Linked DNA regions of Homo sapiens: regions 1, 2 and 4 are each linked to region 3. The links are contacts of gene promoters, found by promoter capture Hi-C in blood cells and fetal thymus (Javierre and others, 2016). All regions are on one chromosome and are shown on one strand. Each heading gives the region's core, a stretch centred on a gene start or on the middle of the fragment in contact. The rest is flanking DNA. Distances are from core to core; before and after follow the strand shown. Region 1 holds the start of CCM2 (CCM2 scaffold protein). Region 2 overlaps H2AZ2 (H2A.Z variant histone 2). Region 3 holds the start of YKT6 (YKT6 vesicular SNARE protein). Region 4 holds the start of PURB (purine rich element binding protein B).

Region 1 (3,395 bases), core at 81-2,580, 800 kb after region 3:
TGAATATCAGTATAACATAGGCCCAGTCAGGAGACAGAAACACAGTAAAGAAAAGTTTAATATAAAGAATTATTAGGCCGGGCGCGGTGGCTCACGCCTGTAATCCCAGCACTTTGGGAGGCCGAGGTGGGCGGATCACCAGGTCAGGAGATCCAGACCATGGTGAAACCCCGTCTCTACTAAAAATACAAAAATTAGCCAGGTGTGGTGGCTGGCGCCTGTAGTCCCAGCTACTCGGGAGGCTGAGGCAGGAGAACGGCGTGAACCCGCGAGGCAGAGCTTGCAGTGAGCCGAGATCCACGCCACTGGCACTCCAGCCTGGGCGACAGAGCAAGGCTCCGTCTCAAAAAAAAAAAAAAACCACCAAAAAAACACAGTTTACATTCTAGCTGTGCTACAAAGTTCTTACCGGCAGATTGGTTTAGTGGCAAAATAGCAGACCTGCTGGTGACTCCAATTTGTAGTGTGCTTTTGGGCGAATCACCTCATTCCCCGGACCTCATCTGGAAAATGTGGAAATTATACCGGATGACTGGTAAGGTTCTACGATTTTATTCTGATAGGGTCTGCACATCCTTGTGGTTGCACTTCTATTTTCCAAATGTGTTTGTCTAAGGCAGGCAGACTTTATAACAGAGAAGTACTAGAAAACGGATTCCCTGTGGCTCAGGGAATAAAGTGGGACACAAGAAAAAAGAAAACCGCACCGCACCCAGACTCTCGGCGGGACGCCCCGCCCCTCAACAGTGGCCGCCTCCTCGCGCCCCTCCTTCGCCATCTGCCGGCCGCGTCCCCTCCCGCCGGCCCCCGTCCCCCGTCCCCCGCCCCCCGTCCCCTTTTCAGAGACCTGAGCTCCGCCTCCCTGGACGCGAGGCAGGCTGGGAAGTCGGCCGCCGTAAAGATGGCGGCAAATTGAAAAAGTTGGAGCTGCTCCCGCGCGCGCTCCCGCGCGCGCTGAGTGGGCGGAGCGAACAGGGGGCTGGACAGGTGCGTTCTCGCGGCCGTGCAGAAGCGAAGTAGGGGTAGGAGCGTTTCCGGCTCTCCTGAAGGACGCGGGGCGGGGTGGGGGTGGTGCAAGGCAGGCGCGTTCTCGGCCGTCCTGAAGGGGCAGGATCTTCAGCCTGTGGGCGGTGCTCTCGCCGTGAGCGGGGCCAACGGGCCGTGTTCTCCCTGAAGGGGCGGGGTCTGATCGCTGCGGGTCGGATTCCCTTGGGCCTGAAAGTGAGGATGAGCGACAACCGTGGGCGGGGCCTGCGCTGGGGAAGGTGGGGCCTGGGCGGGGCGGAGGGGGCTCGGGCCCGGAAGTGCGGGTGTGGGGCGCGGCCGGGGCGGAGACTTCGGGCCCGGCTGGCGGGCGGCGCCGGGAGCGCGGGGGCGGCGGGCCCGGGTCGAGCATGTAGCGGCTGCTGGCGGCGGGGCTCCCGGGGCGGGCCGGGCGGGCCGCGGGAGCCGCACGCGGCGATATGGAAGAGGAGGGCAAGAAGGGCAAGAAGGTGAGCGTGCGCGGGGGCGTCCTACTGCTGTGGTCGGCGGGCGGCTGGGTTGAGGGGCCAGGGTGGGGTGGGCGGGTGTTCCTTGGGGCCCGGGGGGGGGGGCAGTGGGCCAGCTGGCGGGGCGGGGCGGGGCAGGGCGAGACCCCGGACAATGGTCAGGTGGGCTTTCGCGGCCGGGCGGGCAGGAAGCGCCGCGCCTTTCCTCTGGCCCGGGCAGCGGCTCGCCCCGACCTCGGCCCCAGACGGCCTTCCCTGCGCGTCGGGACCTGGGGCTGCAGAGGAAGTGGGCCCGGCGAGGGGCCAGAAAGCTGTCCAGGGCTGGAACTGGAGCTAGTGGGCTGTGTGGTTAACGTGGAGACGTTTGCTGCTCACTGGACTTCGTTTTTGGATATCCAGTAAAAGCAAGGGTGGCCTTCACCTTATGGCCAGCTCACTCGTCCACTATCACTCAGACCTAAAACCATTGATTGATTTTAGTGACGCTAGCTACATTTGGCAGTGGGATTTAGGACATAGTTCATAGTCAAACCCCAGTTTATGTAGTTTTACAAAATGTGGCTTTAATTACAGTAAAGGGTTATAGTAGTCGATAAAGAAACATTTTAAGACTGGAAAAACGATGTGGATTGAACTACCATTAAAGTGGAAAATGGATTTTAATAAAATGTATCTTTTTCAAATAAATGCTTTATAATCTTCACGTCTTGGCTATCATTTTCTTTTTGATGTGTGTGTGCGCACTTTTATCCACAAGTTTAAAGCAGACCTCGATAATTCCTAACTATGATTTTACTACCCTGAACTCTGCAGGGAAGTGTCCTTTAATTGACAGCTACTCACCACCTTGTTTGACAGAGTGCCCCATTTAAAAGTCCTGTTTGAAATAGAATGTAGCCAGGTGGCCTTCAGGGAGTCCTGTGGTGCTGGTTCTCTACTTTCTCAACTCATTGTTTCATGTTAGCACCATGCATGTCTAATTTAGGTGCAGTATAATTTGCGGTTATCTACAAAGATGTTTTAAGTCTGGAAAATAGCTCAAGATAGTGATTCAGCCTGCAGGTGTTAGATTAGAGATGCGTGCTGCGCACAGAAGAGGGAGGAGCCAAGCAGTGTAAAAGGAGTTAGCTGGAAAGGAGAGGTGCTAACCCGGTGGCTGCTTAGTAGGGACCATCAGGCCCGAGTGTGGATGATGCTGAGCTTTGCGGAAAGTGAGCCATGTGCTCTGTGGAATGCCGGGATCCAAGAGCGCGCTAAGGACTGATGACCTCATTGTGCACCGCTTACAGGAGTACCTGGCCCATCTACCTGTGTGTGATAGGCAAGGATGGAATTGAGTGATTTTTTTTTCTAGAGCTGTCTATCAGCTTTGGTAGAAACATGAAACACCCAGCAAATAGGGAGAGAGAGAGAGAAGCAGTAAGACTGTTTTTGGGGTACAAGTGAAAAAACAGTAAAATTATCAAGAATTTTCCAGTTGGGTAATGAAAAAATTTAGGCATAAACAGGTTAATTATTAATTTCATTTTCTCACTAGAGGAGATAATCAGTTGTTATGTAGTTGCTTAAGCCAGGGGTTTTGTGTTTTTTCTGTATTCTGCCACTTGTCTTAGCTTGTTTCCTGTAGACAAGCCAGACAAGGAGCTTTGGGGCATGGATTCTTCTCCAGGTCATGACTTAACACTACCTCGTGTACTCTGCCAGTTGCAAGCTGGCAGAACCTTCCTGCTCAGCTACCACATTCAATGTGAGATCACCTCCAGTTTAATAACTTCGGTGGTTAAATCATTCTCATTAAGGTAAATTGCATTGCTCTAAACTTATACACAAATTCAGACATAAGTAGCAGAAGTGCTGACAATAGTTTTATGAAGGTACAGTTTGGACGCTTAAATTCTTCTAAGT
Region 2 (3,322 bases), core at 699-3,198, 640 kb after region 3:
CTGAGTAGGTGGGATTATAGGCGCGCCAGGACGCCTGGCTGTTTTGTATTTTTAGTAGAGACAGGGTTTTGAGTGATCTGTCCACCTTAGCCTCCCAAAGTGCTGGGATTACAGGCATGAGCCACTGTGCCCCGCCAGTCTGTGCCTTTCTTACAGGCCTCCCTCAACCCTTCACTGCTCCATTATTTCAACAGCTACAATTACTTCCTTTCCGCTGGTTCCTTTCCTTCTACAGACTTTACTGAAAACTTCACAATCTATGAAAACTGCTTCCAGTTACAGTCTAGACAGTCTCTTTCCAAAGACTGAATTGAAAAAACAAATCCTGAAACCCTTACTTCCTTGTCACCCATTTTTCCTAACCCTAACTTGACCTTTGAAGGCCAGCAGTGACATTTTACTTCCTTAATAAAAACAAGCAATCTTTTTTTTGCATTTATACTTCATCTCTAAGTGACCAAAAGCTTCTTAAGGGCAAGATTTATGTCTTCTTTTCCTTTGTATCCTTAGTAACCAGTATGTTGTCTGGCATACAGTAGGCCCTCAAAAACATTTCATCTTAGACTTCAGAGTTCTCATACCAAGTCTGACTACTCCTCAGCCTTTTCTTAAAGTTTTTCAGGGGTCCACCAACGTCCCTGTGCTCCTTTCTCATTCTCTTAGGTTAGGAAACTCATCCATAACATAAACTATCCATTTTACATAAATGATCTCAAATTCCTAATTCTATCACCTCTATTAGAAAGCTGAACTCATGTTTCCAACTTCTGGACATTTTCACATGGATGTTTTAGTGAACTTCAAAATGATTCCATTTAAATTTACTCATAACTTGCCCCTACTACAAACTCCTCTGTTCCTTAGGTTCTAAGCCTTAGAGAAACCTGTGACTTTCTCTCAACCTTATACTGCTTCACCTATTTTCTGCACACACATGCTTTCTACTCCTTCCCATTCAAGTATGTTACTTTATTCCTAAACCACTGCAAAAACCTCCATTGGCCTTCCATTTTCTACTTCAAATTAAGTATGCCTTAAAATAAATTCTAATTGGGAATATACATGGAGACCTAAAATACAGAATGTGCATATCAGTTTAAGTTCCCATCCCCCTTCTTTCGGTATCATCTGGATAATGTTGTCCTCTGGCTCAAACTCTCAATGGCTTACCACTGCCAAGAGGATAACAGTTTACAGCTTAGCCTTCCTGATTAAAAGGGTTTCTCAGCCAGGCGCGGTGGCTCATGCCTGTAATTCCAGCCCTCTGGGAGGCTGAGGCAGGCAGATCACGAGGTCAAGAGATTGAGACCATCTTGGCCAACATGGTGAAATCCCGTCTCTACTAAAAATACAAAAACTAGCTGGGTATGGTGGCGCACGCCTGCAGTCCCAGCTATGTGGGAGCCTGAGGCAGGAGAATCGCTTGAATCCAGGAGGCAGAGGTTGCAGTGAGCCGAGATTGCACCACTGCACTCCAGCCTGACGACAGAGTGAGACTCTGTCTCAAAAAAAAAAAAAAAAAAAAAAAAAAAAAAAAAAAAAAGTCTGTAGTAATACAAGTAGATTTTTGTAATTGATGAAACATAGGTCATAAATTACAACAGTAAAGAAAATAATAATGTAATGACAGCATGGATTCATTACCTGTAGCCCAGCTCTCTGTGAGCGAGATACTGCCTTAGCCTTGGCCTTCCCACTGTCCTTTCCAGCTTTGCCTCCAGCCTAAATGCAAAAAAAAATTTTTTTGAATGAAAAGAGTTGAAAATACTACTTCAAAAATATTCTGGAAACAGAATTTTTTCTAGTTTTACTTTAGGTAGTTAACAATATGTAGGTGATCCCCTTCCTCATTTGTAAATATACATGGGATTCTATCACCTTTTATAATTTCTATCAAAGAAATCAAACCTTAAACACTTATTTAAAATATTTTTCTTTTTTCTTGAGATGGAGTCTAGCTCTGTTGCCCAGGCTGGAGTGCAGTGGTGCGACCTTGACTCACTGCAAACTCCACCTCCTGGGCTCAAGCGATTCTCCTGCCTCAGCCTCCTGAGTAGCTGAGATTACAGGCGCACACCACCACACATGGCTAATTTTTGTATTTTTAGTAGAGGTGGGTTTCACTATGTTGGCCAAGCTGGTCTTGAACTCCTGACCTCAAGTGATCCGCCCGCCTAGGCCTCCCAAAGTGCTGGGATTACAGGCATAAGCCACAGTGCCAGGCTGAAAAATATGAGATTTTTAAAAACAAACATATTTATCAATTTCCAGATTAAAGAATCTTGCAAGTCAATATAACTTTTATGCATACATGAAATATTTCACAATTTTTATCAATGTCAATGTAACATATATTACTTCCACAGAAATATTTAGAACTTAGCTCTCAGAAAAATAAAGCATGTTCCAAGAAAAAAAAAAAAAACCTCAAAAAATTAAACACAGAATTGTCATATAGTCTAGCAATTCCACTTCTAGGTATACACCTAAAAATTGAAAGCAAGGATTCAAACAAATACATGTATACCCACGTTCACAGAAGCATTATTCAGAATAGCCAAAAGGTAGAAACAATCTTGAGTGTCCAATGATGGATGAACAAAATGATATACATATAATGGAATAGTATTCAGCTTTAAAAAGGAAATTCTGACACAAGCTACAACATGAATGGGCCTTGAGGACATTATGCTAAGGAAAATAAGCCAGTTACAAAAAAGACAAATACTGTATGATTCTACTTATGAGGTCCCTAAAATAGTAAAGTTCATGGTCAGAAAGCAGATTTGTGGTTGCCAGGGGTAGCTGCCTCCTGGGTTCAAGTGATTCTCCTGCCTCAGCCTCCTAAGTAGCTGGTAGTATAGGTGCGCGCCACCATGCCCTGCTAATTTTTGTATTTTTAGTACCAACAAGGTTTCTGCATGTTGGCCAGGCTGGTCTTGAACTCCTGACCTCAAGTGATCTGCCTGTCTCATCCTCCCAAAGTACTGGGATTACAGGCGTGAGCCACTGCGCCTGGCCGAGTTATTGTTGAATGGGTAGAGTTTCCACTTGGGAAGATGAAAAAGTTCTAGAGGCAGAAGGCAGTGATGGTTGCACACTATAAATGTACTTAATGCCACTGAACTGTACGCTTTAAAAAAACCTATTTCTGCATGAAAAAGGCAAAGTATGTGCCAATGTAATGAGCTTTTAAGTAAATATGGGGTATTATAGAGTATATGTGTACACATGTATTTCTAGTAGGTGACACAATAAATTAGAAATGTTATTTGCCTCTCGGGAGGAAATACTAAAGGTCTGACTTAAGAAAACTAATTTT
Region 3 (2,987 bases), core at 329-2,828:
TTCTTCCATTTGTTTGTATCCTCTTTTATTTCATTGAGCAGTCGTTTGTAGTTCTCCTTGAAGAGGTCCTTCACATCCCTTGTAAGTTGGATTCCTAGGTATTTTATTCTCTTTGAAGCAATTGTGAATGGGAGTTCACTCATGATTTGGCTCTCTGTCTGTTATTGGTGTATAAGACTGCTTGTGATTTTTGCACATTGATTTTGTATCCTGAGACTTTGCTGAAGTTGCTTATCAGCTTAAGGAGATTTTGGGCTGAGACGATGGGGTTTTCTAGATATACAATCATGTCATCTGCAAACAGGGACAATTTGACTTCCTCTTTTCTTAATTGAATACCCTTTATTTCCTTCTCCTACCTGATTGCCCTGGCCAGAACTTCCAACACTATGTTGAAAAGGAGTGGTGAGAGAGGGCATCCCAGTCTTGTGCCAGTTTTCAAAGGGAATGCTTCCAGTTTTTGTCCATTCAGTATGATATTGGCTGTGGGTTTGTCATAGATAGCTCTTATTATTTTGAGATACGTCCCATCAATACCTAATTTATTGAGAGTTTTTAGCATGAGGGTTGTTGAATTTTGTCAAAGGCCTTTTCTGCATCTATTGAGATAATCATGTGGTTTTTGTCTTTGGTTCTGTTTATATGCTGGATTACGTTTACTGATTTTCGTATGTTGAACCAGCCTTGCATCCCAGGGATGAAGCCCACTTGATCATGGTGGATAAGCTTTTTGATGTGTTGCTGGATTCGGTTTGCCAGTATTTTACTGAGGATTTTTGCTTCAATGTTCATCAAGGATATTGGTCTAAAATTCTTTTTTTGTTGTGTCTCTCTCTGCCACCCTTTGGTATCAGGATGATGCTGGCCTCATAAAATGAGTTAGGGAGGATTCTCTCTTTTTCTTTTGATTGGAATAGTTTCAGAAGGAATGGTACAAGCTCCTCCTAAAATGTGGCACATATACACCATGGAATACTATGCAGCCATAAAAAATGATGAGTTCATGTCCTTTGTAGGGACATGGATGAAGCTGGAAACCATCATTCTCAGCAAACTATTGCAAGGACAAAAAACCAAACACCGCATGTTCTCACTCATAGGTGGGAATTGAACAATAAGAACACATGGACACAGGAAGGCGAACATCACACACCGGGGACTGTTGTGGGGTGGGGGGAGGGGGGAGGGATAGCATTAGGAGATATACTTAATGCTAAATGACGAGTTAATGGGTGCAGCACACCAACATGGCACATGTATACATATGTAACAAACCTGCACGTTGTGCACATGTACCCTAAAACTTAAAGTATAATAATAAAAAAAATGCTTACTTTAAAAAAAGAAAGAAAAGAAAAAAAAAAAAAAGAAGGGTTCAGGCCGCTGTGGGAGGCCCAGCACCACCCAGCACAAGACAGTACGGTATCCCGCCGCGCGCCCGACTCCACCTGGCGAGCAGGGAGGGGCCAAGCTTACGCGAGGCGTGGCATCCCGCCCCTCGCTGCATTGTACTTCCGGGCTCACATTTCTGCATCCGGAGTATGAGAACCCTCAACCAGGCTGACCGGATCCGGAAGTGGATTGCGAGCCAGGAGGAGGAAGCCGGCGGTGGCCCCGTCAGCAGCCGGCTGCTGAGAGGCCGGTAGGCGGCGGCGGTCCCGAGGGGCGGCGGCCGCGCTGCTCCCTGAGAACGGGTCCCGCAGCTGGGCAGGCGGGCGGCCTGAGGGCGCGGAGCCATGAAGCTGTACAGCCTCAGCGTCCTCTACAAAGGCGAGGCCAAGGTGGTGCTGCTCAAAGCCGCATACGATGTGTCTTCCTTCAGCTTTTTCCAGAGATCCAGGTGAGCGGCACAGGCTGGTGGGCCGTGGCGGTCGGGCGGAGAGGACTGGGGTGGGGGTCCGAGTCGGAGTGGGCCTGGGGTCGGCGGAGGGATGAGGGGAGGGTGGAGGAGGCCAAGGGTAGGGGCAGGGCGGGGTGGCCGAGTGCCCGGGGTCTGAGAAGGCTGGTGTCCGAGTCAGAGGCGGGGCGGGGTGGGGAGGGCCCGGGGTCTGCTGTCCGGGCTTGGTCTCCTATAATGGAATCTGGCCGTGGACTCTACCTTTGAGGAACCAACATTAGCTCTTTAAGAGCTTATACCATTCTAGAATATAGTTCTCTACTCAGTGTTTTTCAAATTTCTGTCGTGTAAAAATTTTAAGGAGACTGTGAAGTAGTGCAGATTTCCAAGCTTCATGCCAAGATGTTCTGAATTAGTAGATTGAGGCCTCGGTATTTATATTTTAGACCAACACTTCCCACCCAGTGATTCTGACTCTGGGAGCTTGGGTGCCGCATCTTGAGAGCCATATTTTGATTTTCTTGCGGGGCTTCCCAACAATTCTGTATGAGAGATAGTGATATACTTTTTTTTGTTTGTTTTTAATGGGTGAAGTCACTGAGGTACCAAGAGGTTATATCACAACCAGCTAGAACTGAAAGCCAGGTTTAACGCTTTTTAGTTGGACACTAGTGGTACAAAAGGATTCCACACGGAAGATGCAAATGAAGCATGGGATCTGTAGGGCTTACAGGCTTTTACTTGTTTCTGGGGCGCTTTAATTGCTGGAACGTGTTAGAAGTAACACAGACACTTCCAGACCATTCGTGGGAGGGATTGGGGTGACTCAGGCACGAAAGAAGGAGGACCCTACATGGTCGGTATCTATGGTCATCTTGTCTCAAAATCTGATGGAATCTGCCGTTTGGATTCTGTTTTCCCTGCTTCAGTGCAGCTGGTTCTTGATGAGAGTTCTTTGCCAAGGACTTGCTGGATGTAAAAAAAAAAAAATGTTATTTTGTTGAAACTTTCTGCTTCTTTGAGTTCTTTTAAAAAAATATTTTTAATTGTGGTAAAATGGTACACAAAATTTATCTTCACTATCTTTAAGCGTGTAGTGAGTGCATTGATATGAAATAGATTGATAGTGTTGTGCAGCCATCACTGTCAA
Region 4 (3,311 bases), core at 671-3,170, 680 kb after region 3:
TATCTTTGAAAATTTTTTGTCAACTTTGAAACTATTTTAGTAACGGATTCTACTCCAAGCATTGCTATCTGAATCCACTGGCATCCTGGAAAACAATTCTGCGAAGAAAAGACATTTGCCTTGGTCCAGGTTCCATGCAAAACCATTTTTTTAAAAAAATGGATCCAATTTGGTTCTGTATTCTTAGATGGCTTCTTGAAATCTTATCTTTAACCTGTTCATGATTATCCCAAGTTGCATTTCTTTTCGTGAACCTGAACCCTCAGAACTGGGTAATTGTAAAGGCCTCTCTTCTCAAGGATTCCATGAAGACCTAGATCCAAAATGCTGATTTCAATGGAGGTGAAGGGATAGACACCGCAACAGTGAGGCCTAGAGAGATCTTTTATGCCAGATTACCCAGGTGCAACCTAAATGCAACTGTTATCAATGGTCTGGGTAACTTGGACATGTTTCTTGCCCTGGATGTGCAAGGATCTATTCCCTCCAGGGATTATCCTGATGGGTTTACGAACCTCAGTTGAGAAACAACAGAAGCTGAGACAATTTTACGCAGGTGAGGAGATGCTGTTTTCCTCTTTGCAGGTTGCTGTCAGTTCCTTGGAACTTGACTGCTTTTCTCAAGTTGTCCGTCACTGTTCTCTTACGATTATTTCTCTTAACTGTGTTACGTTTTGTTTTTTCCCTCTGCGGCCTCCCTTGCTCCCTCTCCACTAGCTCACTGGGGATGAGCAGGAAAGGGAATTCTCTAGCCAAGGGGATGGTGGTTGGGTGGAGGCCTGTAGGGGAAGCTGCCCGTTTCAATCCTCATCCACCTCCTCACCCTCTGACTCTTCGCCGCCGCCGCTGCCCCCACCACGTCGCTCATAAAGCTTATCCCTCTGTCGTTCCTGGATTTCTTTCATCTCATCCGCATACCGGCAAAAGGCGCCTCCGAACTTGCCCCAGGCTTTGAAGGGTACGGTGATGGCATTGCGGTAGGACGGCTTCACCTCGCTCACTCGCAGAAACACCCCGTATTTGTTGCAGCCCACATCGAAGAAGAAGCGCTTGGAGTCCACGGTGATGGAGGTGCCCTCCGGGAGCTCTCCATACAGGCCGCCCCCTGGGCCCCCGGCGCCGCCTCCCGGGCCGCCTGCCAGCTCGTCGTCCTCGCCTCCGTAGTCGTCTATGAGCTTCGCCAGCGCGTCGCGGAACTCGATGAGGCCCTGCGCAGGCAGCGCGATGGTCTGGCCGCTCTGCAAGCCGCCCGGCCCGGGGCCCGCGCCGAAGCCGCCACCGCCGCGGTTGACCGTTTGGCGGATGCGCAGGAAGCGGCCGCGCTGGTTCTCCTTGAGGTCCAGGTAGTACTTGCGGTTCTCACGCACCAAGAATTCGCTCTTGAGCGCGCGCCGCGGCCCGCCGCCCTCCTCGGCGCCAGCCGCCAGCTGCTCGGGGCTGCTAGGGCCCAGCTGCGCGTAGTGTTCTATGAAGTCGCCCAGCGAGTCGCGGAACTCGGCGGCCACCGCCATGGACAGCGTGAGGCGGCTCTTGGAACCGCCCGCGCCCACCTCGGCGATCTTGAGGAAGCGGCCCTTGGCGTTCTGCTTCACATCTAAGTAGAAGCGCTTGTTCTGGATGTCCAGCCGCTTCGAGGCCAGCTCCTGCGTCTCTTGCTCGCCGCCGCCGCGGGACGCGGGCTGGAACCCGCACGGCCCACCGCCGCCGCCGCGCTCGCTGCCGCTGTCGCCGTCCGCCATCTTCTAGGCCGCCGCCTCGCCGCCACCGCCCGCCGCGCTCGCGCCCCCGCCCTCCGGCTCGCGCTCCGGGGCCCCCCAGCCTCGCCCGCCCGGCTCGCTCACGCGCTCCCGCCGCTCATCGCCGGCCGCCGCCGCCCCCCCATCGCCTCCGCGCCCCGCCCCCGCGACTTCCGTGCAGCCCTAGCCACTTCCGGCGCGCGATTTCCCGTGAAGTCACTCCGTCCCGCCCTCCGCGGCCTCGCGGCCGGAAGCGCCGCGGCGGCGTGGCGCAGAGGGGTGACGTCAGGGGCCGCGCCGGGCGGGCGGCAAGCTGAGAGTAGGCTAGTGTTACTGCTCGGTTTCTAGCCCTGGGGACTTGCCAGCCTTAGCGTGACTCAGCCGCCCGCTGCGTCTGTCTACGCGCCTCTTCCCGTGACACTTTTACTTTAGACTCCGGTGTCGTCCACTTCCCTCCTTCTCGCTTCCGGGGCGTTAGCTGAGCATACTCAGGCCCCAGCCTGCTCGCGCTGGTTGTGTGCTGGGAACAGAGTTCCAGTCTATACACTGGCGACCGGGGGGAGGGAGATCCTTTGGAGCACTCGGAAGCGGGTTCTGACCAGCCTGTGGGGTTCCCTAGAGGAGGCATGAGCTGACTCTGAAGGGCAAACTGCAGTTGGCCTGGCAACTCTGGAGAAGAGCCACCCAGCATAGGAGACGGCAGTGCAGAGGCACCCAGGGCCTGATGCTGGGAGCTCAGAGCAGCTGGGGGTGTGTATGCCTGAAGAATGGTCGTAGATGACACTGGAGGGTGGATTAGATCAAGGAAAGCCATTTGCAGTGCGGGAGAGTTAGTGCCTACCCCAGAGTCTGGAGCCACCGTATGTGATCAGGTTCACATTTTGGAAAGATCACTGTGGGAACAATATAGAAAGAAGATGATTTAGGATGAGGTTAGATTTGGGATCCAGAGATCAGTTAACTGTCCCCACAGTTAGCCATATTAAAGTGGTTAAGGAAATTGACTGCCAATCTTTAGTTTCTTTATCAATAAAATGAATAATTCCTATGAGGTCTTTTTGTTGTAAGCATTGAGGTGTAACAAGAGGCAGAATTGGAATAGTGTTAAAAAGTGTAGGCTCTGCAACTGCACTGGGTTTGAATCTGTGACCTTGACCAGTTACTTGATTTTCCAAAGCCAAAATGTCCTCATCCTTAAATTTTTTTTTTTTTTTTTTTGAGTCTTGCTCTGTCACCCAGGCTGGAGTGCAGTGGCGTGATTTTAGCTCATTACACCCTCCACCTCCCGGGTTCAAGCAATTCTCCTACCTCAGCCTCCTGAGTAGCTGGGATTACAGGCAACCGCCACCACACCCGGCTAATTTTTGTATTTTTAGTAGAGATGGGGTTCCACAATGTTGGCCAGGCTGGTCTTGAACTCCTGACCTCAGGTGATCTGCCCGCCTCAGCCTCCCAAAGTGCTGGGATTACAGATGTGAGCCACCACACCCAGCCTAAATGTAGTTATTCATAGATAGTGAATCCAACAATGGACTTGTAAAGAACACAAATAATAGATAACCCAATATAAAAGGT

Evidence for each region. Contacts are between HindIII fragments. The CHiCAGO score rates a contact against its expected background, and 5 or more counts as called.
Region 1: a contact is called between the fragment with the promoter of CCM2 here and the fragment with the promoter of YKT6 in region 3, in 2 of 17 cell types (fetal thymus and total B cells). The highest score is 8.7, in fetal thymus.
Region 2: a fragment that was not itself captured here is called in contact with the fragment with the promoter of YKT6 in region 3 in 1 of 17 cell types (fetal thymus); the score reaches 5.2 in fetal thymus.
Region 4: the fragment with the promoter of PURB here is called in contact with the fragment with the promoter of YKT6 in region 3 in 4 of 17 cell types (fetal thymus, non-activated CD4 T cells, naive CD4 T cells and 1 more); the score reaches 7.6 in fetal thymus.

The regions. Positions count from the first base shown.
Region 1 is chr7:44,998,871-45,002,265 of GRCh38, forward strand. It overlaps CCM2 (CCM2 scaffold protein), which reads left to right and starts at 1,331. Exons shown (of 10, transcript NM_031443.4): 1 at 1,331-1,493. The coding sequence starts at 1,464. It overlaps LOC102723334 (a long non-coding RNA gene), which reads right to left and starts at 1,138. Exons shown (of 4, transcript XR_428139.4): 1 at 848-1,138; 2 at 410-503. RefSeq lists silencers at 598-647, 1,278-1,807. The HindIII fragment of the contact is 6,187 bases long and covers 1-3,395 here.
Region 2 is chr7:44,841,633-44,844,954 of GRCh38, forward strand. H2AZ2 (H2A.Z variant histone 2) reads right to left here. Exons shown (of 5, transcript NM_012412.5): 2 at 1,645-1,722. Among named protein-coding and RNA genes, the nearest start is that of H2AZ2, 4.8 kb to the right of the region's middle. The HindIII fragment of the contact is 2,973 bases long and covers 463-3,322 here.
Region 3 is chr7:44,199,400-44,202,386 of GRCh38, forward strand. It overlaps YKT6 (YKT6 vesicular SNARE protein), which reads left to right and starts at 1,579. Exons shown (of 7, transcript NM_006555.4): 1 at 1,579-1,840. The coding sequence starts at 1,737. RefSeq lists a silencer at 1,686-1,755. The HindIII fragment of the contact is 756 bases long and covers 1,470-2,225 here.
Region 4 is chr7:44,883,610-44,886,920 of GRCh38, forward strand. It overlaps PURB (purine rich element binding protein B), which reads right to left and starts at 1,921. Exons shown (of 1, transcript NM_033224.5): 1 at 1-1,921. The coding sequence starts at 1,739. The coding sequence ends at 801. RefSeq lists enhancers at 993-1,952, 2,101-2,350 and silencers at 1,411-1,460, 1,751-2,110. The HindIII fragment of the contact is 4,558 bases long and covers 871-3,311 here.